5 separate regions of the Homo sapiens genome follow, and all the other regions are linked to region 3. The links are contacts of gene promoters, found by promoter capture Hi-C in blood cells and fetal thymus (Javierre and others, 2016). All regions are on one chromosome and are shown on one strand. The core of a region is centred on a gene start or on the middle of the fragment in contact, and the rest is flanking DNA. Distances in the headings are between cores, read along the strand shown.

The links. The method cuts DNA at HindIII sites, captures the fragments that hold promoters and counts their contacts. A CHiCAGO score of 5 or more calls a contact.
Region 1: a fragment that was not itself captured here is called in contact with the fragment with the promoter of GDAP2 in region 3 in 1 of 17 cell types (monocytes); the score reaches 9.1 in monocytes.
Region 2: the fragment with the promoter of BCAS2 here is called in contact with the fragment with the promoter of GDAP2 in region 3 in 1 of 17 cell types (non-activated CD4 T cells); the score reaches 5.0 in non-activated CD4 T cells.
Region 4: a contact is called between a fragment that was not itself captured here and the fragment with the promoter of GDAP2 in region 3, in 1 of 17 cell types (neutrophils). The highest score is 5.4, in neutrophils.
Region 5: a contact is called between a fragment that was not itself captured here and the fragment with the promoter of GDAP2 in region 3, in 2 of 17 cell types (monocytes and fetal thymus). The highest score is 9.0, in monocytes.

What each region holds. Positions count from the first base shown.
Region 1 is chr1:114,743,109-114,748,289 of GRCh38, forward strand. All of the region lies in intron 2 of CSDE1 (cold shock domain containing E1), which reads right to left. Among named protein-coding and RNA genes, the nearest start is that of CSDE1, 12 kb to the right of the region's middle. The HindIII fragment of the contact is 2,940 bases long and covers 2,153-5,092 here.
Region 2 is chr1:114,579,434-114,584,529 of GRCh38, forward strand. It overlaps BCAS2 (BCAS2 pre-mRNA processing factor), which reads right to left and starts at 2,182. Exons shown (of 7, transcript NM_005872.3): 1 at 2,066-2,182; 2 at 1,866-1,958. The coding sequence starts at 2,158. It overlaps DENND2C (DENN domain containing 2C), which reads right to left. Exons shown (of 21, transcript NM_001256404.2): 21 at 3,417-5,096. LOC105378914 (a long non-coding RNA gene) reads left to right here and starts at 2,410. Exons shown (of 3, transcript XR_947719.4): 1 at 2,410-2,966; 2 at 3,092-3,205. The HindIII fragment of the contact is 8,807 bases long and covers 1-3,026 here.
Region 3 is chr1:117,927,736-117,932,230 of GRCh38, forward strand. GDAP2 (ganglioside induced differentiation associated protein 2) reads right to left here and starts at 1,886. Exons shown (of 14, transcript NM_017686.4): 1 at 1,713-1,886. WDR3 (WD repeat domain 3) reads left to right here and starts at 2,004. Exons shown (of 27, transcript NM_006784.3): 1 at 2,004-2,047. RefSeq lists enhancers at 1,811-2,105, 1,987-2,156. The HindIII fragment of the contact is 4,170 bases long and covers 759-4,495 here.
Region 4 is chr1:114,763,800-114,768,512 of GRCh38, forward strand. No RefSeq gene overlaps it. Among named protein-coding and RNA genes, the nearest start is that of CSDE1, 8.2 kb to the left of the region's middle. The HindIII fragment of the contact is 8,893 bases long and covers 1-4,713 here.
Region 5 is chr1:114,712,592-114,717,171 of GRCh38, forward strand. NRAS (NRAS proto-oncogene, GTPase) reads right to left here and starts at 4,180. Exons shown (of 7, transcript NM_002524.5): 1 at 4,067-4,180; 2 at 3,459-3,586; 3 at 1,209-1,387. The coding sequence starts at 3,569. CSDE1 (cold shock domain containing E1) reads right to left here. Exons shown (of 20, transcript NM_001007553.3): 20 at 4,325-4,580. RefSeq lists enhancers at 3,876-3,975, 3,986-4,185. The HindIII fragment of the contact is 2,336 bases long and covers 984-3,319 here.

The DNA of each region.
Region 1 (5,181 bases), core at 2,373-4,872, 3.2 Mb before region 3:
TTTCAAGCTGTGCTTCTTTCATGTTTGTTTGTTTATTTAATTAATTAATTTATTTTTGAGACACAGTCTTGCTCTGTCACCCAGGCTGAATTAATTTATTTTTGAGATGGAGTCTCGCTGTCACCCAGCCTGGAGTGCAGTGGTACGATATTGGCTCACTGCAACCTCTGCCTCCTGGGTTCAAGTGATCCCTCTGCCTCAGTCTCCCAAGTAGCTGGGACTACAGGTGTGCGCCACCAAACCCAGCCAAATTTTGTATTTTTAGTAGAGACGGGGTTTCACCATGTTGACCAGGCTGTTCTCGGAACTCCTGACCTCAAGTGATCCGGCCCCTGCACTGCGCCCTGGCCTCCCAAAGTGATGGGATTACAGGCGTGAGCCACTGCACTTGGCCTCATGTTTAGACTATAGTTCTGATTACTATTAAACAAGAACACAATGATATGATCTGAAATATATATGCCTTAAAGCTGCAAAATATCCCCATTCTCAAGTCTCCAATCCTGCCACACATCACTGCAGGTAGGAGATAGAAATCCTCTTTTTCTCACCCAAAGGGAGACTGAACCAGAATTAGAAAGCATCAAAGCTAGCATTTTAAGACTCTAAGTTGTTCCCCAACAAGAATGTTGGAATCTGGGCTCTACTGTTCGAGTCTCCGTCTCATCCCTAGACACATACCAAAAGAGTTGAAAAAGCCTTCCCCTTCTCCCAGAATCTTTGCTGACTAGAGCTCTCTTTCCCTAGCCTTTATCCATTTGGAGGAAGCCTTTATTTTATTTTTCCAAAGGGAAACACACCACTCAAACAACTTTAGATAAGTTGATGTGACATGTGACATGTTAATACTTTTCAAAGAATTCCTAATAATTTGGCTAAACTATATTTTAATGGCATTGCAAATATTTCTTAATCAGCACCATCAAAAAACAAGCAAAATGGAAGTTATCACAAAAACAATTACATGAAAGTATAGGACAAATGGAAGTAGATAATTTAACAGAACCTTGTTTATAAAAAATTAAAGATGCTAACAAAGGTGGTGGTAGGAAGGACCCAGTAGGTAAATGTTACTTGACTTCTTCTTTAAATAGGGGGGAAAAAAATCCACAATTTAGTTGCTTGCCTAACAGCATGTAAAAATGTATTCAAATGAACCGAGTTTAATGTCTTAAAAAATATTTAAAAACCAGCCAGGCTCAGTGGTTCACGTTTGTAATCCTAGCACTTTGAGAGGCCGAGGTGGCAGATCACCTGAGCCCAGGAATTTGAGACCAGCCTAGGCACATGGCAAAACCCTGTCTCTACAAAAAAATACAAAAATTAGCCAAAATTAGCTGGATGCCTATAGTTCCAGCTACTCAAGAGGCTGGGGTGGGAGGTTCACCAGAGCCTGGGAGGTCAAGCCATGATCCTGACACCGTACTCCAGCCTGGGTGACAGAGTGAGACCCTGTCTCAAAACAAAAACAAAAACAAAACAACAAAAACAAACAAACAAAAACCCCAAAACATACACACACACCCCCATGGATGAGTATATTTGTAAAATCTTTGCAAGGGCGGAACTTTCTAGATTTGAAATCAATTAAAAAAAAATCACAAGGGACTGATATCTGATTATACAAAAAGCACAAGCTTTTATACTCAAACCTGGGGGAAAAGTGTAAATACACCAGAGTAGATAGGGCAAATCAGTACAATTAAATTACCAGAATATAAGCTTCTTGAGGGGCAGAACTTTCAATTCAAAGCTAAATCCCTAGATTTTAGATAAACAGTGCCTGGCACAGAGCAGGCACTCATATGTTGAATTACTGATTAAGTGAGCAAATAAATCATTCTTGAATATCAATTATTAAACTTTATACACAAAAGCTAAAACATTAAACATTAAAAAAAAACTTGAATTTTTGCAATAAAAAATCCAGATAAAGCAAATTAATACTTTCATATACCAAACTAGCAAAGACGTAAGATTTTAAAATAATGAAAAAGTGAGCTAAGAACAACACACACACCACTTTTATGGTAGTAAATTGGTACAACCTTTTAGAAATGCAATTTAGCAACATGTATCAAAATGTGGAGATATTTTTCTTAATAACTGCATTGCAGAAAAGCTCTCCTGGGGAAATCTGAAATGTGAAAAAAGCTTTATACACAAGTATTTTAACAAATATATTTTTGTAGCAAATTCCTGGAAATAATATAAAGTCTAACACACTTTATAGCTCAAGACGTCATTGTAACTTATGTAATGCTATGTGGTCATTGGAAACAATATGTGGAAAATGCTTATTCTGTAATAGGAAATGAGACATAAGATATTTATACAGTATGATTTCAAATGTATTTAAAGACCAGAAAATCTAATGTTCACAGATGAGAAAACACTTAGCCATCTTAAGGGCACAGCGCTAAAAATGGCAAATGTGGGAACAGAATCCAGTTCTGACTCCATTCTTAACCACTGCCTTATTCATTCAACCACAATTAAGTTCATACAATGCATCAGCATTATTTTAGGTTCTACTCATATAGTAGGTAACACAACAGACAAATATCTCCAGCCTCATAAAGTTTAGACCTTCTACCCTTTTCTACATATTTACTTTTAAACTGAAAAAGTCATTGACAAAATTAGTCCTCCTTTAATAAAAGCAGAAATGGAACAAATCTCAGGTCAAATTTAAACTTCATTTGTAACTCAAGAAATTGATTAAAGTTCCCTGAAGAACATAAAAGTCAAAAGACTGGCTTTCAGTCCTGACTCTCAAGTACTTTTAACATCTCTGGGATTTTTTCCTCAAAAGTAAAGTGGGAGCACCTAACTGGTTTCCAAGTTCCTTTGGGGAGAGGGGGTGGAAATCTATGCTTTGTAATTTATTACAACATCTAAGTTGTTTTTCCCCCCTAATCTGGTCTGCTTGGCTTCTACTGATTGACAATCAATTTGGAAAAGGTAGCCTATTTCACCATAAGATCTTTAGAAAACTACTCTGTATTCTCAGACATACCTCCCCTTGACTTCCACTGTTTCTTCCAATTTTCTGAACACAACCATTTTTAACACTAATTGCTGTCTTCTGGATAGGTTCTAAGTAATTATTCATTAAAGTGCATTTCACTACTATTCTTAATGTACCCGACCAATATAAAGTACTGAGTGATTACACTCCTTGATTCTGTAGACTGAAGTTTTATAACTTTGTAAAACTAAAACACATCCCCATCATTTCTTCACAAATCACATTAGCGAAATCAGGTTTTCTTTCAGTTCCTCCGTAATGGATCGTTTGTTCCCAAATAAAAAAACTATAACCTAATGCTTTTAAAATGCCTTCTGTTGGTTAATCTAGTATTCCAATTTGGTGACTAATTTTAAATTATCAGACTCTTTGTAGTTTATCTTTTAATCATTCATTCTCCTACCTTAACACCTGTCTCACAGAGTTGTTGAGATGGTTAAATGAGTTGCTGCACGTAAAAAGCCTAAAATAAGTGCTTACGTAGCACATAGGTACTCACAGAACTACTCATTAGGTCTCTGAAAAAAGCAGGGCGAGGATAGCATCTGGCAGCATACACCTGGAGACTTCTCTAAAATCAGTCTCTTACTAACTGCTATCCATCCAACATTTCTCCATATTGACCATTATGCTATCATGAGCTAGTCTGCCAAGTTATTTATTCACTGGCTCTGGGGTTTTTGCTAGGGATGAAAAGTAAGCTCAATAGTTCCCACATCTGACTGAAAAATCAGGACATTTACAGTTCCTGTCATAGGTCTCTATTTGACTACTATCACACACCTAGCAACTAGCACCCTAGCAACCGCCAAGTAATCCTGTTATTTTCTCACTCATCTGGGGCCTCAGTTTTCTCTTGCTTTGCTATGTTTCAAGTATGAAAATTATTGCATTCAGCAGAAAAAACTAGGAGCGCGACAGGAATTTTCTAGTTTTGCTTTTCTCTTGTCTGTCACCTTTAGACTAACCTGGATCAAATCATTCACCAAACAATTCAGGTCTATTTTCACATCTCAAACAAATGCTTTATAAGCCTTATTCTTTCTTGCCATTTTATGGCTAATTCTACCCTTCTATATATATTTGTTCCTAATTACGTACTATTTTTACTGATTTTACAAAACCCCCCTTTAAAATCTGGGGGTTCCATTGCATTACCAAATCTGTTTTCTTAGCTGTGTGCCCCCTTTAACTGAACTATTTCACAACTGTACAACCACAGCCATGTTTTACTGCCAATAATCTTCATCCCAATTGTGGTTTCTTTGTACATATGTAAACATGTAATTTTTAGACAGCTATGGATGCATTTATATATTAAAATGTTCATGTAGTAAACTAATATTCAGAATACAAAGATTACACTAAACAAAAAGGACTTCGTTAAATCTATTTCTATAAATCATGTCAATGAAATGAAAGCCTTAATATCTAATCTTGCCAGGCACGGTGGCTCATGCCTGTAATCCCAGCACTTTGGGAGGCCGAGGCGGGTGGATCACAAGGTCAGGAATTCAAAACCAGACTGGCCAACACGGTGAAACCCCGTCTCTACTAAAAATACAAAAATAAGCCAGGCATGGTGATGCGCGCCTGTAATTTCAGCTACTCAGGAGACTGAGGCAGAAGAATCACCTGAACCTGGGAGGCAGAGGCTGCAGTGAGCCAAGATCACCCCACTGCACTCCAGCCTTGGCGACAGAGCAAGACTCTGTCTCAGAGAGGAAAAAAAAAAAAATCTAATCTTTTATGCTTCAGAACATAAAATTGTGGTTTCAATTTGTGTTAATCTTCCCTATCTAATCCAACAGAATCCACAACAATTAGTCTAAAATTATTTTTTAAAAATCAGCTAAGGTAAGAAGAAACAAATAGAAAAACTAAATGCTACAATTACCTTAAAATTAAATAACAGTGTCTGTTTATGAGACATAGATAATTTTACTATAGTTTTTAGTTGTTAAGGAATAATTCTAGTGCACAGCAAGGTCACTGACACTATTACATAATCCTTCAATAAATTGGAAATAAAGTCCTAAGCGCTTCTTGAAATAGCAGTGAAGCTTTTGTAACTGAATGACTTATTTTCATTCTTCATTTTATTTGACCTCTGTAGCATCTAAAAAAATGTTTACCATTGACTTCCTGAA
Region 2 (5,096 bases), core at 932-3,431, 3.3 Mb before region 3:
TCTGAAACCTTCAGAAATCAGTCCAATAAGGAAGCATTACTGTACTTAGTTCTTAATGTGGTTAACATCTACACCTAGGTACAAATATTTAGAAAAAGCATAGGAAAACACGTTCATAGGAACATACGTCTTCTACTTAAAACTCAGCCAAGGCTGGGCATGGTGGCTTACACCTGTATCCCAACACTTTGGGAGGCTGAGGTGGGTGGATCACTTGAGGCCAGGAGTTCAAGACCAGCCTGGCCAACATGGTAAAATCCCGTCTCTACTGAAAATACAAAAATTACCCAGGCATGGTGGCAGGCACCTGCAATCCCAGCTACTCGGGAGGCTGAGGCAGGAGAATCACTTGAGCCCGGAAGGTGGAGGTTGCAGTGAGCAGAGATGGCACCACTGCACTCCAGCCTGGGTGACGTAATGAGACTCCGTCTCAAACAAAAACAACAACAAACTTAACTAACAATTTTTTCATGTTACTTTAATGTAAATAATATCTTTTTTTTTTTTTTTCCCTTTGAGACAGGGTCTCACTCTATTGCCAGGCTGGAGTGCAATGGCATTATCATGGCTCACTGTAGCAGTCTTGAACTCCCAGGCTCAAGTGATCCTCCCACCTTGGCCTCCTGAGTAGCTGGGGCTACAGGTGCATGCCATCATGCCTGGCTAACTTTTTAATTTTTCTTTTGTAGAGAAAGGGTCTCACTATGTTGCCCAGGCTGGTCTCAAGTGATCCTCACACCTCAGCCTCCTAAAGTGCTGGGATTACAGGTGTGAGCCACCACACCCAGCTAAATACTGCCTTTTAATAATACAATCCTTTCATAAATAAACGATTAGGTATAATGGGAAAAAATCCTCCAAGCTGTACATACTGAAATACTTGAATCCAATAATTTAGAAATGATATCTTACATTTCATTTAGCTAACTAGACCCTAACTAGAATCCTGGGTGTACTTCAAGGTTATACATTTAAAATAGTATCATACTCAATGTGTGGAGTAGAACAGCATCTGACTCCTTAGGCAATCATGGACACTCCCTTCTCTAATCCTCTTGTCCTTATACATACCCTCCGCTATAGGTCCTTTACATATTATTACACATTTATACATACTATTGTAAACTTTTTGTTTTATATATCTAGCTCCTCACTGTATTGTATTTTTCTGTATTCAGAAACCCTATCTTTTTTGGAGAGGATGTTTGTCTTAAATAAAGAAAAGAAAAATTAAAAGAAAACAAAATATATTAAAAAAGAAACCCCATATATCTCTATGATCTCAGAATCTAGAATGGCACCTAGCACTTGTAAAGTATTCATATCAGTGAAAATTATTGCCTACATTAATCAGAAATGTGTTAATAAAAACATCGGATAGATTACAGAAAAAAGGAGAAGGCTGAGAAAAAAGTAGTATACACTTGGATATGGTTTGTCCTTTCAGTCGTATCACATACATTTGGTAAATAACTAGACTTTAATATGCCACTCTCCAGTGGTTCTAAAGAGCTTAGGTAATTAGGCTTATACATATTAAAAAACCCTAGATCACTTGCTGTAGAGTGAATCTTGGCAGGAGAGGGTCCCTTTGAGAATTTACGCATGGATCCTATCTCAAAGAATGGTAGCCACAAATTTTTGCATTAAGTGAGTTGTGGAGCCCCAGAAAGTCTTCCTATGGATCTTAGAATAAGAACCTCGGAGAAGACTTATCTATCTAGTTGTTTTCAATAGACTGACACCTATACAGTAGGTAAGTAGTAGCTATGCAGGCAATGGTTAAAACTGGAATTTAAAGCTCTCAATCCAAAATAAAGGTTCACAGGAATTCTCGTTCACACCTAGGCTCAAGACATACTTACTTCAAAGGCAGAATAATCCGGGGCTGTCAGGTAGCTCAGGTAGTTCTTAGTAGGTCGGTATCTGCGAGTTTCCTCCTCCACCAGCGCTGCAGCCTAAGAAAGAGAATAGGGACCAGGGTAGAAGTGGCAAATTGTAACATGTTTCTTTCAGTACCGAGCCAGCTAGCAGTGAGTCAGCTACAAAGACACCCCGCACTCACCGCTTCCCGCACACCAGGGGCTTCATAACCTTGATCAAAATACGGCAGCGCATCCACCACAACCTCTCCAGCCACCAAACCTGTGCCCGCCATTCTGAGGACCTCAGGTTTGCCTGCGTTTTCTGCGTCTGCGTAAACTCAGTTATATTTAATTACGCCGGCGCCTGACACTGATGTAATCACGTTCCCTCCGTATTGACGTTAGTGCATGCTCAGTTGCTAATTTTGAAGGCGGGTCCGCCCGGTATCTAGAAATTGCCGGGCTGGTTTGTTTTGGGCGGACGTGACGTAACGTCTTGGCTTGTCTGCGTCAGCGAAAGGCCTCAATTTCCTGTCCTCTGCTTACTGCCCCTTTTTTTGCCTGCGAATGGCGGCGATTTGAAGTTGGGGCTTTTCGTTTCCTCCAAAACATTGATATCTGGAAAGGGAGCCCCTTAACACTTTTGGAGGGAACTGGCTGCAGCATTTGGCGGGGAGAGATAAACTGGTTTCCCACCTCTGCTTACTCCCACCTTCTCCCCTTAATCTTCTCTTCCTCTGTGCGAGACTTTTTTCCTTTTTTATTGTAGACACAGGGTCTTTGTTCTGCTGCCCAGGTTGGAGTGCAGTGGCGTGATCATAGCTCACTGCAGCCTCAACCCCCCGGGCCCAAGCGATCCTTCCACCTCAGCCTCCCGAGTAGCTGGGCCTAGAGGTGCACACCACCATGCCTGGCTAATTTTTAATTTTTTTTGTAGAGATGGAGCCTTTCTATGTTGCCAAGCCTAGCCTCGAACTCCTGGCCTCCCAAAATGTGGGGAATACAGGCGTGAGCCACTGCACCCCGGGTCATTCCTCTTTTACTTCCTTGCTGTACCCCAACTATCCTTCCCCCTCGGTGCCCTTAAAACCTTTGCATTGGGTAAGTACATTTTTTAAAGAGACTCTAGAATTGGGCGCCAGTCTCCAATTAAAATTGTGAAGCTTTATGGTCTGCGTATCAAAAGGAACCTCAGTTCCTTAAAAATCCTGTCATTTTGCCTTTAGGACTTAACGGTAATAGAATGGCATTCCTCACTGCCTCCGAACCACTCAAGCTGCTGCCCATGCACTCTCTTCTGCATGGCTCCTGGACTAAGCAGCCTCCCTTTGATTAAGCAGGTAAAAACCAAATAAAGTTGTCAGACTATATGCCCTGCCCAGTGTGCAGTCTAGACCCAGCCTTTGTCTGCCAAGAGCCTGGAAATGTTGACCTCCGTTATTAAGCCTGGTCAGTCTAAGACTAATTCTTATTACCGAAGTACCATTAGGTAAATGTGCTAGCTATAGATTTAAGTGACATAAAAGATCTTAAAGAATTCTCCAAGGGATCTGTGGGGGGTTTATGTATTTATTCATTAAAAGATCTGTAAACAACATTTTATACAAATCTTGATTCTTTTACAAAAATATCCAGAATTCCTAACACTTTACAGAAAACACAACAGACCTAAGGAAATGAAGCAGCTTCAGGCTGCGAGGATGAAGACACCATTGCTGAAGCAAAGGTCTCCTCCTAGAGGGATAGCCAGGATCCATCACAGTAAACCCTTTTACCCCCATTTTATAAACATCCAATTATTAACTGTTCCTGCTGGGTTGGAGTGTAAGAAGAGACCAAATGGAGAGATGTCTAGTAGAAGCCCCACTGGGGGTAACCTGCTTAACATTAAAAAAAAGACAGGCTCAGTTCTATTCCCTGGACCCACATCTGTAGGAATTATATTATACAGCACCAGTCTTAAATGGTGTTCTGCTTCAGATTCATGCATACCTGAATGGGTTGTAATGACAATACTGTACAAGTCAATAAACTGTATCACAATACAACTTACACAGTTTTGTAAGGTTGAATAAATACTTTCTGTGCCAGTTAAAACCATCAGCAGAAACTGAAGAAAACAAACTGACATTTGCTATAACATTAATCAATGAAAAGTGCACCATCTGAACTTGAATTTGCCCATGAGTTTGAAAACACACACACACACACACACACACACACACAGGCCGGGTGCAGTGACTCATGCCTGTAATCCCAGCACTTTGGGAGGCCAAGGTGGGTGGATCACCTGAGGTCAGGAGTTCGAGACCAGCCTGGCCAACATGGTGAAACCCCCGTCTCCACTAAAAGTACAAAATTAGCCAGGTGTGGTGGCGGGTGCCTATAATTCCAGCTACTCAGGAGGCTGAGGCAGGAGAATTGCTTGAAGCCGGGAGGCGGAGGTTGCAGTGAGCCGAGATCACACCATTGCACTCCAGCCTGGGCAAAAAGAGCGAAACTCCATCTCAAAAAAAAAAAAAAAAAACCGAAACAAAACACACACACACACACATACACACACAAAAAAAACACTGCACCATCACTGAAAACTTTCTCTTTCCAATCACTACTACTACTACTTTAGATATTAAAGGTCTGGATGACTAAGTGGTATATGTTCAAGGAATGTTCATATTTTGAGTCTAATTTAATTAGAGCAAAAATTTCAACATTTCTAGGGGAATAAAAAGAGTCTCATCTAGGCACCTATAAAGTTCCTTATCCTCAGAGCTGAAAAGTGGCTCTGGTACACTTAATAGAAAATTTTTATTAATAAAAGAAATAGCTATATAATCCTACTGAGATGAAATTTCCATCTGTAGGACTAACCAACTTTTTCTGTGTCCATAAAAGTCTTGGCTTCAGTTCTGTGTTGTACAACTTTGGGCAACGTATTTAACTTCTTTGAATTTGTTTTTTTCTTTTTTCTTTTCCTTTTTTCTTTTTTTTGAGATGGAGTCTCGCTCTGTCACCCTGGCTGGAATGCAGTGGCGCGATCTCGGCTCACTGCAACCTCTGCCTCCTGGGCTCAAGCGATTCTCATGGCTCAGCCTCCCGAGCAGCCAGGATTACAGGCACCTGCCACCACACCCAGCTAATTTTTTGTGTGTATTTTTAGTAGAGACAGAGTTTCACCATGTTGCCAGGCTGGTCTCGAACTCCTGACCTCAAATGATCCACTCGCCTTGG
Region 3 (4,495 bases), core at 636-3,135:
ACAATAAATACAGTATAACAAGAACATTCCTAAGCTTGTCAATGGCTTGGGTCAAATTTAACATCATAATTCAAAAGCACCCAAAGAACATATCCTAACAGTAAATTAGTAGTACCCCTTCATATTAAATGAACTGCACTATGTTTTAATTGTAAATATTGATATATTAGGCATTTTGAAACTTAAATAAGGAAGTAGAGTTACATCCTTGAAACATTGTATAAGGAATTTTGTAAGATGCATTACCTTACCACTCACAGTTGCTCTGATACCAACTCTTATTAAAATCATTTTTTTCCATCTGTGGTTGTCCCATCCCATAATATTTAATAATATTAAGATAGTTTTTTAAGAAAAGGTAAAATCATGACTCATTCAAATATAAAACCAAACCCGTGTTCAAGATTTTATTTAACTCAAAATGGAACCAGGCAGAGAAGATAAAGAAAATCCCAGAATTAGACACCTTAGAGCAGGAATATTGAAATAAATGTGCAAAAGGAGGCAAAACTTCCACTGAATCTCTGAGAGAATTCGCATGTCTTGACAATAATTATTTAGCATTGATGTCACTTACCTAGTTTACGTAACTGAAAAATAGCTTTTTTAGAATTAGTTATTCCAAGGGGTGTTAAGATAGAATCTAAACTATGTAGTTTTCCATTGAAGCACACACTTCTCCCCATAATAATATAATGCACAGCACCTGTCAGGGATATTAACCATACATACCCACTCAAATGCTCCCTTTCCCACCAAGCTTATTAAAATAATAGTTTGTGGCCACAATTTCTTCCCTTCTCATTTATCCAATACACAGCAATCTTGTTTCAAAACTCCTATGCTGCTACAGCTGTCCACAGTCTCATCATACGCATTCTTTGCTATTGCAATTTTCTTGAATATGGAAGATTAGCTGAACATGCATTAAGCTCAGGAAACTCTAAAGAAAATCAGATAATGTAGACAAAAGTCTAATTTCTAGGCTGGCTGCAGATACCTTGTTCAAGAAGCGCCGGCAGGATCTTCTTTTGTACAGCTATGTTAGCTTTAATTTTGCACAGCTCTAGACATCAGAACTCATTTCTAAACACTTCTATGCAGCTCAAGAATAAAAGTAGCAGAAATGCAAGAGAGAAAAGCTAATTCCCACTTGGTGAAAGAGCACTTAAGTCTCAGTGAGCAAACAAGGAGGAGTCAGCCTTGGTCACTTCCCCCTCAAGCGGCCAGAGAGCGGAAACACAAAGCCAGGCCAGTGTCACTCCAGGGATTGCGGGAACCTAGACAACGCACCATCCTGGGCTCAGCGTCTACCCACCCCTCACCCGAGGTGCTCTCGGTTCCGTAGAATGTCCAGTCCACAGGAACGGCAACACGGACTTGTCTTTGGGACTACAACCAGCAAGAGCTCCCGCCTGCCCCATTTCACCTGCACCCTAGGGCGCCCGCCTCCTTGGCTACAGCACCACTGTTCCTAGTGCCCGCCGACTGCCCACCCTTTCACTTCTCGTAGAGACGGCGTCCCCGACAACGCCTCGGGAAAGAACCTAACCAACATGCGAGGAAGTGGCGCCAGGCTCGTTCTTCAAGAGAAGTGACAGAACTAACCCTCAGCCTGCAATCCTGACCAGGGCCGAGTCCCGAGCGCCTCGGACCGCGCCCCCGGCCCTCTCCGCCCCGCCTTCCCTCCCGGCCTCAGTCCCTCCTCTCACAGCACTCTGGTGGTCCCATCCGGGCGGCGGGCGGCACGGATCAGGCTCCTGGTAGAAGGCGGCCGAGCGACATCTCCGGCGACCCTCAGCAGGAGCGCGCCGAGTACGGCGAGTCAAAGTCCCAGGAGACTGGAGTGACCAGCTGCAAATGCTCTGGGCTGCGAAACACCGGCTTCCGCTCCTGGCCAGAGCTCACCAATCAGCGCCCGGCTTTCTCCGTCATTTCCTCCTAGAAGGCAAAGGGAACCTCTGGCGGAAGAGGCTTCCGGAACGGACCCGGAAGGGGCAGGTCTTGTGGGCGGGTCCAATCGGCTGGGAGCCTCGTGGAGGCTGAGGTGAGTCCTGGAGGTGCGTGGTTGGGGCGGAGAGCATTATCTGCGGCTCCGATTTTGCAGATTCTGGCTGAGGCGTTCGTGATGTCAGCAGCAGCCGAGACGGGCGTGTTAAAGGCCGGTTGCTAGGGCTGGGGGAACTCAGGTAACTACGGGCGTCCCCACAGCAGTACTTGGAAGCCCCTCAGCTACTCGGCGCGGTTGCGGGTGCTGAGCAGAGCTGCCTGACCGTGCGTGTGCACGGGCTGGCCTGAGGATGATATGACCGTGTGTTCGGTGTGTGGAACCCTCCGTCACCCTCCCCTGACCGAAGACTCGTTTAGGAATGTGTGGCAGGTCTGTTGCCACGGTCCAGGCCTTCAGTGCATCTTGGAAACATCGTTTTGGGGGCTGTAGGTTAGGAAGCGGAGATCATGGGGTCTCGGAAGAAGGTTTGGTCGTGAACTGTCAGAAAGGAGGCGAAAGCTGTGCACGTGGAACAAAGTGAACAGTGCAAGTTGTATGGGAGGTAGTTTAAATATCGAGGCGATGAAAAAAGGCTGCTAGAATTGGGCTTACTCGAAAGGAAGTGGGCCTCAGAAGATAATATTAGTTAAAAGAAGTAGAGGAGAACATGGATGTTATTCTAAGTAAAACGAATAATATGAAGAATACAAGGTCGCGGGACGAGGAAGGAAACTAGCCAGCCTGACAGGAAGGTTTATTCGAGAAATACGGGGGTTAGATAGGATGAGTTTTTGGAAACTGGCAAACGATTTAGCCTTTTCAAGGCTTTAGGATAGGGAAAGCTCATTTGAAAAGATTAGTCGGTAGTATTATGACGTTTAAATGAAAAGAGTGAAAAACATGGAGGCGGAGGTGCTAGGTGGAAAATCAGTGCAGTAATCCAGTGATAAAGAGCTGGAACTGAAAGTGCTGGAGAGAAAGGGATCCTGTTTCAGAGTAACAGTCAGGTGGAATTGACTAAAGAGAAAGAGGCAAAGAGAAGCAGTTTAGCATAGTGGTTAAAAGCAGAAATTTTGGAGTTAGACTGGCTGGATTGGGATCTGGCTTTGGCAATTAGCTGCTAAATGACTTTGAGTTAGCAATTTGCCATCTCTGGGTCTGAGTTCCTTGTCTGTAAAATAGAGATAGGAAGAGTGACTTCCCTTGTGGTGTTATTGTGGAGAATTTGTTTATTTATTTTTAGAGACAGAGTCTCACTGTCACCCAGGCTGGAGTGCAGTGGCGTGATCATAGCTCACTGCAACCTCGAACTTCTGGACTCAAGTGATCTTTCTGCCTCAGCCTCCCCGAGTGCGTCACCATGCCTGGTTAATTTTTTAAAAAATGTTTTGTAGAGATAGGTTCTTGCTGTGTTGCCTATGTTGGTCTGAAACTCTTGACTCCTAGGCCTTGGCCTCCCAAAGTGCTGGCATTACAGGCATGAGCCACCATACCAGGTCCTTATGGATAATTTTTTTATGCTCATATTTACAATGTGCTAGAGGCTTTTCTAAGTGCTTTGCATATGTTAGCTCGGTTTCATTAATTGCTGTATGTAATTAAACAATTGCATAATGTTATCAGTTACTATAGCGTAAGCACTCTCTAAATCTTGGCTGCTATAATAATATTTTTTTATTAATAATTCAAAGGTTATTAAATGGTTTTGAGCCTGAAGAGCTGGGAAAATTGTGTCTTAGTGTCAGAAGAAAAGAGAGGGGTACCAGAAGTAAGGTAGGCTTGGTTATAGACATGTTAAATGTGAAACTATAAGGTATTCAAGTGGAGATGTTCAGTAAATATTGGAAACTCTATAATTAGTATTCATGTAGGTGGAAAGGACTGGAAATAGACAGATGGGAGTCCCTGGACCTAGGCATGCTATATGAATTCTCCAAGGAAAACACTGTAGAAGGAGGTGGTAGATGGCCAAAGACAGACAAACATAAGGAACAACTACAGAGTCTGGAGGAATAAGAGGAATTGGGAAAGAATTAATCAAATGGCCTAGGCTAAGAGCATTATCACCATGTTAATATTATCTTTCCTTGATTTTAAATTGGCTTTATGTTGGTTCCTGTGAGAGAAGCAATGAGGCCAGTAAGTGATTATTACCAGAAAATATTATCAGAGAGTTGAGATTGAATTTTTTTTGTGTTAGACTAAAACAGCATTTGATAATTAGAAAGACCCTGTAGAGTTAAGCCAACCAACCAAAGAAACAAAAAACAATAGCAAAAAGAAACAGCTCCTCATAAAAGACTGTAACTTCTTTATTTTTGTGTGTTTTAAGTTGCATGGGTGTTTTTTGGGGATACTTTTTACTCTTCCATGTAAAGAACAGATGGGACTGATTTGTTATCTCCTTCATTCACCTCTTGTCCCTTTTATAAATAACCAGTGGATTATGGATTTTCAGTGAATTTAATAAAAGTGCAGAAATTATGGCATCTTTCCAAAAATAGT
Region 4 (4,713 bases), core at 1,491-3,990, 3.2 Mb before region 3:
TGAGGAGACAAATGCTAATCATCCAGACAATGGGGAAAATGTCTCCAGGGCATGTCAGAGACCTTCATGGCAGCCCCTTCCATCACAGGCCTGGAGGCCAAGGAAGGAAAAATAGTTTCCTGAGCCAGGCCCAAGACCCCCTGCTCTGTGCAGCCTTGGGATATGTGCAGCCTTGGGACACGGTGTCCTAAGTCCCAGCTACTTCAACTCCAGCTGTGGCTAAAAGGGGCCAAGGTACAGCTCAGGCCATTATTTCAGAGGGTGCAAGCCCCAAGCCTTGGCAGCTGACACATGGTGTTGGGCCTGTGAGTGTGCAGAAGTCAAGGATTGAGGTTTGGGGACCTCCGCCTTGATTTCAGAGGATGTACGGAAATGCCTTGATGTCCAGGCATTAGTTGGCTGTAGAGGTGGAGCCCTCATGGGGAACCTCTGCTAGGGGAGTGAAGAAGGGAAATGTGGGGTTGGAGCCCCCACACAGAGTCCCCACTGGACACTGCCTAATGGAGCTGTGAGAAGAGGGCCATCATCCTCCAAACCCCAGAATGGTAGATCCACTGACAGCTTGCACCGTATGCCTGGATAAGCTGCAGACACCTAACGCCAGCTGTGAAAGCAGCTGGGAGGGGGGCTGTACCCTGCAAAGCCACAGGGGTGGAGCTGCCCAAGGTTGTGGGAGCCCACCTCTTGCATCAATGTGACCTAGATATGAGACATCAAGTCAGACGAAGGAAATCATTTTGGAACTTTAAGGTTTGATGATTGGTGTAATGGATTTTAGGCTTGCATGGGGACTATTGCCCCTTCGTTTTGGCCAATTTCTCCCATTTGGAAAGGGTATATTTACCCAGTGCCTGTACCGCCATTGTATCTAGGAAGTAACTAACTTGCTTTTGATTTTATAGGCTCATAAGGGAAGGGTCTTGCCTTGTCTCAGATGAGACTTTGGACTTGGACTTTTGGGTTAATGCTGGAATGAGCTAAGACTTTGGAGGACTGTTGGAAAGGCAAGATCATGTTTTGAAATATGAGGATATGAGATTCGGGAGGGGTCATAGGCGGAGTGATGTGGTTTGGCTGTGTCCTCACCCAAATCTCATTTGGAATTGTAGTTCCCATAATGTCCACATGTCGTGGGAGGAACCTGATGGGAGGTAATTGAATCATGGGGGCTGTTACCCCTGTGCCACTGTTCTCATGATAGTGAGTGAGTTCTCACAATATCTAATGGTTTTATTTGTATTTATTTATTTATTTATTTTTGAGACGGAGTTCTGCTCTTGTTGCCCAGGCTGGAGTGCAATGGCACGATCTCAGCTCACTGCAACTTCGGCCTCCTGGGTTCAAGCAATTCTCCTGCCTCAGCCTCCCAAATAGCTGGGATTACAGGTGTGTACCACCACGCCCAGCTAATTTTGAGTTTTTTTTTTTTTTTTTTTTTTTTTTTTTTTTTTTTTTTACTAGAGATGGGCTTTCACCATGTTGATCAGGCTGGTTTTGAACTCCTGCCCTCAAGTGATCCACCCACCTCGTCCTCCCAAAGTGCTGAGATTACAGGCATGAGCCACCACTCCCAGCCTATCTGATGGTTTTATAAGGGGCTTTTCCCCCTTTTGTCAGCACTCATTCTCCTTGCTACCATGTGAAGGACGTGTTTGTTTCCCCTTCTGCAATGATTGTAAGTTTCCTGAGGCCTCCCCAGCCTTTCAGAACTGAAAGTCAATTAAACTTCTTTTCTTTATAAATTACCCAGTCTCGGGTATGTCCTTATAGCAGCACGAGAACTGACTAATACAATTATGAAATAAAACTTTCACTACTTAGAATTTTTATATTTATTGAAAGGGCTATTTTAAACTTTTTTTTTTTTTGGAGACAGGGTCTCAGTCTGTTGTCCAGGGTGGATTGCAGTGGCATGATCTCAGCTCACTGCAGCCTCCATCTCCCAGGCTCAAGCAATCCTCCTGCCTCAGCCACCTGAGTAGCTGGGACTATAGGCATGCACCACCACGCCTGGCTAATTTTTGTATTTTTTTGTAGAAATGGGGTTTTGCGATGCCCAGGCTGGTCTTGAACTCTTGGGCTCAAGCAGTCCTCCTGCCTCAGCCTTCCAAAGTACTGGGATTACAGGAATGAGCCACCTGTGCCCTGCCTAGACATAGATTTAAATCATGTCTCCCTTTTGTGTGTATATGAAGTAAAAAAAAAAAAAAATGGCAAAATAAATTTGTTAAGGTATTCCTAAAACTTCTTCACAAAGTCTAACTCTTCTGAATCTCTTTCTTTTCAGTAATAAATTTGACCATATTTTAAAAATTCCATTCATCATGAGGCAACATAAAAAAGTTTAAAAAATCAACAGACTAGTATATTTGCATTATATAAAAAATGTATTGGTATCATGAATATATAATACATTAATAAGAAAAAGCCAAAAGGAAAGAAAAGGAAAATGGAGAAAATACTTGAAGGTCCATATTTTTTTTAAAACCTGTATAGGCAAATACTTGAAATTATACCCAGCCTCATTAGAAATCAGGGGGATGAACTTTTTTTTTTTAGATTTTTACACTTACAGAAGAGGTAGAAAAATAGTACAGAAAGTTTCCATAAACTCTGTACTTGCTTCTCCTATTTTAACCTTACATAACTATAGAACAATTTTCAAAACTAGGAAATCAACTTTGACATGATAATATGACTTGAAATACAAAATTAATTTGGGCTGCACCAGTTATTCCAACAATGTCCATTTTCTCCTCCAGGATCAAATCTAGGATCCCACACTGCATTTAGTTTTTATGTCTCCTTTGTCTCCCTTCTATGACAGTTCTTTAGTCTTTGTCTTTTACAACTTTAACACTGAAACAGGCTGGGTGTGACGGATCATGGCTGTAATCCCAGCACTTTGGGAGGCCGAGGCGGGCGGATCACTTGATGTCAGGAGTTTGAGACCAGCCTGGCCAACATGGTGAAACCCCGTCTCTAGTAAAAATACAAAAATTAGCTGGGCGTGGTGGCAGGCCCCTGCAATCTCAGCTACTCTGGAGGCTGAGGCTCTAGAATTGCTTGAACTCAGGAGGTAGAGGTTGCATTGAGCGGAGTGAACTCAGGAGGTAGAGGTTGCAGTGAGCCTGGGCAACAGAGTGAGACACTGACTCTCTCTCTCTCTCTATATATATACTTTAAAACAGTATCAGTCAGCTATTTTGCAGATTTCCCTCAATTTGGTTTTGTCTGATGTTTTCTCTTGATTAGATTGAGGTTATACATTATTTGGAACACTACAGAGGTTATGTGCCTATCATTGCTCAATATCAGGGGTATATAATGTTGAAGTGTATTATTACAATTATTATTATTGAGATGAGGTCACGCTTGTCGCTCAGGTTGGAGTACAGTGGCATGATCTCGACTCACTGCAGCATCCACCTCCTGGGTTCAAGCAATCTTCCCACCTCAGCTTCCCAAGTAGCTGGGATTATAGGCGCCCACCACCACGCCCGGCTAATTTTTCCATTTTTAGTAGAGACGGGGTTTCACCATGTTGACCAGGCTGGTCTTGAACTCCTGACCTCAGGTGATCCACCCACCTCGGCCTCCCGAAGTGCTGGGATTACAGGTGTGAGCCACCTTGTCCAGCCATTGAAGTGTATTATTAATGATGTTTACCTTAATCAGTTGATGTCTGCCAGGATTCTCCATTGTAAAATTACTACTTTTCCCTTTGTAATTAGTGAGTATTTGGGGGCAGGGCAATGCTTTGGTAATGTACTGAATTGAATAGTGTCCCCCCTAAATTCATTCCCACCCAGAACCTTAGAATATGACCTTATTTAGAAATAGGGCCTTTGTGGAGGTAATCAAGTTAAGATAAAGTCATACTGGATTAGAGTGGGCCTGAATCCAATGAGTAGCGTCCTTAGAAGAGAGAATTTTATACACTGACTAGAGACATGCAGGGAGAATGCCATATGAAGACAAGAGATTGAAGTGATACATCTAGAAATCAGGGAACAGGAATTGCCAGCAACCCCAGAAGCTAGGAGAGGGGCATGGAACACATTCTCCCTGAGACTTCTAGTCTCCAGGACTACGAAAGAATAAATTTGTTTTAAGCCACCCAGTTTGAGTTCATTTGTAATGGCAACTCTAGGAACTAACGCAAACGTATATAAATATCCTGTTTTTGCTTAAATTTTAGCCCACTATTCATTGGTGCATCTTGCTGAATCTTTCTGGTTCATAGATATCCAGGTTTTCCCACATAGAATTATTTTGAGCCCACCAAGAACACTGATAATGTAGCATTTCCTCAAAGAGTGCTTCATGGTTTCCAGGATTTTATTCTGAGCTGCTAAAAGCCACTGGAGTAGGTAGAATTCCAAGCTGGCCACCAAGATTCCCACTGGTGTCGTACGTGTCTTGTATCATCCCATCTTAAGCATAGGTGAAACGTGGATACGAGAAGCTGTATCACTTATATCTCTTTTATGGCAAAGGGATTACTGCAGATATAATTAAGATCTCTAATCAGTTGGGTTAATCAAGAGGGAGATATTCTGGTTGGACCTGACTTAGGTGTATTCTTAAAAGGGAGTCTATTTGCCGGGCATGGTGGCACATGCCTGTAATCCCAGCTACTCGGGAGGCTAAGGCAGGAGAATTGCTTGAACCCGGGAGGTGGAGGTTGCAGTGAACTGAGATCACGCCATT
Region 5 (4,580 bases), core at 902-3,401, 3.2 Mb before region 3:
GTACAACAGGTTAGGAAAAGAACACTTGAATTCAGTGTTGGACCAATCTGCTTTTGAGAGCAGACATCTTCACATGGATAGAAAATAAGCCAAGACTCAAGCCTTTAGGCAGAACACTTAAGTAGCATTTACTGTGTGCCAGGCACTATTCTGAGTGATTTGCGTATTTATTAAAACTGTAATCTTCACAACTCTATGAGGTAGGTATTATTATTTCCATATTATAGGTTAGGAAAGCCACATAGCCCCTGAGTCACGTCGCTAATAAACAGAGCTAGGTTTCAATCCAGGCAGAGTTCTCATTCTTAACCATTATATTATTCTGTTTAAGAACACTGTGCTAAGAAAAAGGAGCTTTGGGTTTTTGGTCCTGGCTCTGCTACTAATAACAATCCTGACTCCAAAACCTAACAAACGACATTCTGAACTCTGTTTCTGATTCTGCAAAATAAGAATATTGTACTAGAATTTTTATGGTCCAATCTAGCTTTGAAACTTTATGGTTCTATGGACAAAGTCTATCTTTATGTTCCCTTGCTTTGTTTTCATCTTTATGGACTTCCTATTTGCTTACTCCTATCATTTTATTTTTTATTTTTTTTGGAGACAGAATCTTGCTCTGTTGATTAGGCTGGAGTGCAGCAGTGCAGTGGAGTGAGCATGCCTCGACCTCCTGAGCTCACGTGATCCTCCCACCTCTGCCTCCCGAGTAGCTGCCACCATGTGTGACTAATTTTTTTATTTTTATTTTTGTAGAGACAGGGTCTTGCTCTGTTGCCCAGGCTGGTCTCCAACTCCTGGGCTGAAAGTGATCCTCCCGCCTTGGCCTCCCAAAGCACTGACATTCCAGGTGTGAGCCACTGTGCCTGGCCTATCTTTTCCATTACATACTGAAAGATGTTTCTTGGAGATGTTTTCCTCTCTGAAATTCCTTCGTGATCTCTAATTACAACAACTCTGGTTCCAAGTCATTCCCAGTAGCAAGCTTCACTTATGTATTATCAAACTTTATAGTAACAGTATATTATGTAAAATAAATTCCAGTATTAACTTTCAGTAATTACCCTAGATTCTCAATGTCAAACAACCTAAAACCAACTCTTCCCATAATTAAAAAGCTCTATCTTCCCTAGTGTGGTAACCTCATTTCCCCATAAAGATTCAGAACACAAAGATCATCCTTTCAGAGAAAATAATGCTCCTAGTACCTGTAGAGGTTAATATCCGCAAATGACTTGCTATTATTGATGGCAAATACACAGAGGAAGCCTTCGCCTGTCCTCATGTATTGGTCTCTCATGGCACTGTACTCTTCTTGTCCAGCTGTATCCAGTATGTCCAACAAACAGGTTTCACCATCTATAACCACTTGTTTTCTGTAAGAATCCTGGGGGTGTGGAGGGTAAGGGGGCAGGGAGGGAGGGAAGTTCAATTTTTATTAAAAACCACAGGGAATGCAATGCTATTGCCAAGGTTAAATAAGCATCTAACTATTCAAGCCCATTTCTGCCTATCTGGTTTGTCCCTCAAATTGCTAATATATAATCACAAACAAAAAGTATCCAATATCACCCTACATAAAAGAAAACCCACCAAATTCTATATGCCTGCAGAAAAGAAATATGGTCACTGTGTTCCTGGAAAAGATTAAGAAAACACAGTAACTCAAATGACAACTCTACTGCAGCCAGGAGGCTACAGATTAAGTACCCAGTGTATTTCACTAAGCTATGAACTGGACTGTTTTATTTGTGCTGTTTATTTTACTTAAAGAAATCTAAACATACCTCCACCAATTATAACCTGGCCCTATATACATCATTTGTGTTTATGACTAAATATACAAATACCTTTGTTTCAGAGAAGGTTTTTTTTTTATCATGACAGATGTACCTTTGGGAAATATTCCTGAATCAAATTCTTAAAGGTTCCAAACAAGGTATAGTTATGTTTAATTTCTCAGGAAGACAAACATGCATAGATCATATAAAAAATACTTTCATTTTGGTTTTATGGCAACAGGACTTTTACTTGTATTTTAATGTCATCACACTTGGAGAACTCTCTGGAGTACTGGAAGTGCTCTATACTGTTATCTGGGTGGTAGCTACATGACTATATAGAAACGCAAAAAGCACTGGGCTGTAGACATAAAATTTATGTATTTTACTTATGTAAATTGCTCAATAAATCAAACATTTAAAAATATTTAATTAAAATATTAAACATTTCATGTAAAATATTAAAGCTGTTAAGCTCAAAATAAAGATTTTGCCAAGGGTTAGCAACCAATTTTTTATAGTGGCTACATTAGAGTTAGTTTTCATCAATTAAACACGAGTAGCCAGATGGTAGGGAGGCCAGGTGTTGATTAAAATAATCTCTAAAGTTAGGCATTTCTAAACTGAACAAAATTACAAAACCCTTTATTTATTTATCTATTTATTTATTTTTTGAGACGAAGTCTCGCTCTGTTGCCCAGGCTGGAGGTCTGTGGTGTGATCTCGGCTCACTGCACCCTCTGCCTCTGGTTCAAGCGATTCTCCTGCCTCAGCCTCCTGAGTAGCTGGGATTACAGGTGCCTGCCACCACACCCAGCTAATTTTTGTATTTTTAGTAGAGACGGGGTTTCACCATGTTGATCAGGCTGGTCTTGAACTCCTGACCTTGTGATCCGCCTGCCTCAGCCTCCCAAAGTGCTGGGATTACAGGCGTGAGCCACCGTGTCCGGCAAAACCCTTTATTTAAAGAGCCTTAGGTGCCACTTACTGAAGACAATCTGTACCATGAACTCTCATAATAACAATAGAATCCCTAAGTACTATTACATAGTGCTTTACCATTCATAAATAACTTAAATATATTATTTAACTTTCCATAACATCCCTGTGTGGTAGGCAGGACAAGTTTATGGTAATTTAAAACATGAGGAAAATGAGGTTGGGAGAGATTCAGTTGCTCAATATCACACAACTAAATAAACTGCAAACAGGGACCAAAATCCTAGGCATAAAGACTAAAAATCTCAAGTTCTTGCTACTCCAATCATCTGGTCTCAGCTGCTTCAACTAGCTAATAAATAAATATTGAAGAACACTCATCTCTGAATCCTTTATCTCCATCCTATTATCTCCCATACAATCAGACAGTCTCGCTACTATGGCCTGTGTTTCTCATGTAATAGAGCTGTTATATATGAAGAAACTCATGAATGAACTCAACACTGAGTTTGCAATAGTTTACAGAACTGTTAAAAACTGGACAGGTTTTAGAAACTTCAGCAGCTAATAAAAATGAACTGTTCTCTATAAACACGTTAAGCTTATTGCATAACTGAATGTATACCCAAAATAACTTTTTACTTTCTCTCCTCTTATTCCTTTAATACAGAATATGGGTAAAGATGATCCGACAAGTGAGAGACAGGATCAGGTCAGCGGGCTACCACTGGGCCTCACCTCTATGGTGGGATCATATTCATCTACAAAGTGGTTCTGGATTAGCTGGATTGTCAGTGCGCTTTTCCCAACACCACCTGCTCCAACCACCACCAGTTTGTACTCAGTCATTTCACACCAGCAAGAACCTGTTGGAAACCAGTAATCAGGGTTAATTGGCGAGCCACATCTACAGTACTTTAAAGCTTTCTATAATCAATGGAAATGAAAACCCTAGTGTGACCTTCCATTTGGTTCTTAAAGTGACTAGAGAACGCAAAAACACCGGATTAATATCGGCCTCACACTTCTGGAGTAGTTTTCTAGCAACCCCCATCCTTAGCTATTTTTCAACAGTCCTTGGGCCCCGCCCTCAGCCTAAGCAATGGAAATCCCCCTTCCTATTACTCCCCGAAGGCTTCTCAGCTCTAGCAGGAAGCCTCCAGGCCGCAACTCCTTCCCATTCTCCCTTCTGTCTCCAAAGATCTCCCCACGTAGGCACCAAATGGAAGGACCCCCGCCCAAGGCCTTTGTCTCCAGCTGATAGATTCTGCTCCATTTCTGGCATCAGTGAAACGCCTGAACATTCCACAGCCCAAAGCCGAACACTATGCATGAGATAAACTTACCTCAAGCTCCACTGCCTCTGCTTTGGACAGATTTAGGACCACAGCCGGGAAAAATGTTGGAGACCCCGGAACCGCCATGAACAGCCCCCACCAAGGAGCGGCACTTCCGGCCCCGCCCGCTACGTAATCAGTCGGCGCCCCAGGCGCCTGAGTCCCCGCCCCGGCCACGTGGGCCTCCGAACCACGAGTCATGCGGCAGGCCGCACCCAGACCCGCCCCTCCCACACGGGACGTTTCAATAATGAAAGCGCTAGGTGCTAGTGTCTCAAAAATCAGTAAAACTTTATTCGCTTCCATTCTTTCGCCATTAACAGAAAACTGGAGAAAGCAAAAATGTTTCGTGTTTACAAAGATAAACGGCCTCTTTACCCAGAGATCAAAACCTCAAACGACAAGGGGGAAGATAAAACCGCCCTCCCCCACATCCCCTGAGCTGACCCTTGTCATCTTAGACAAAGCCTTCAGTCCACTGGCCAGGGACCCTGTATATGGCCAATTCAAGAAGAGGGCCAAG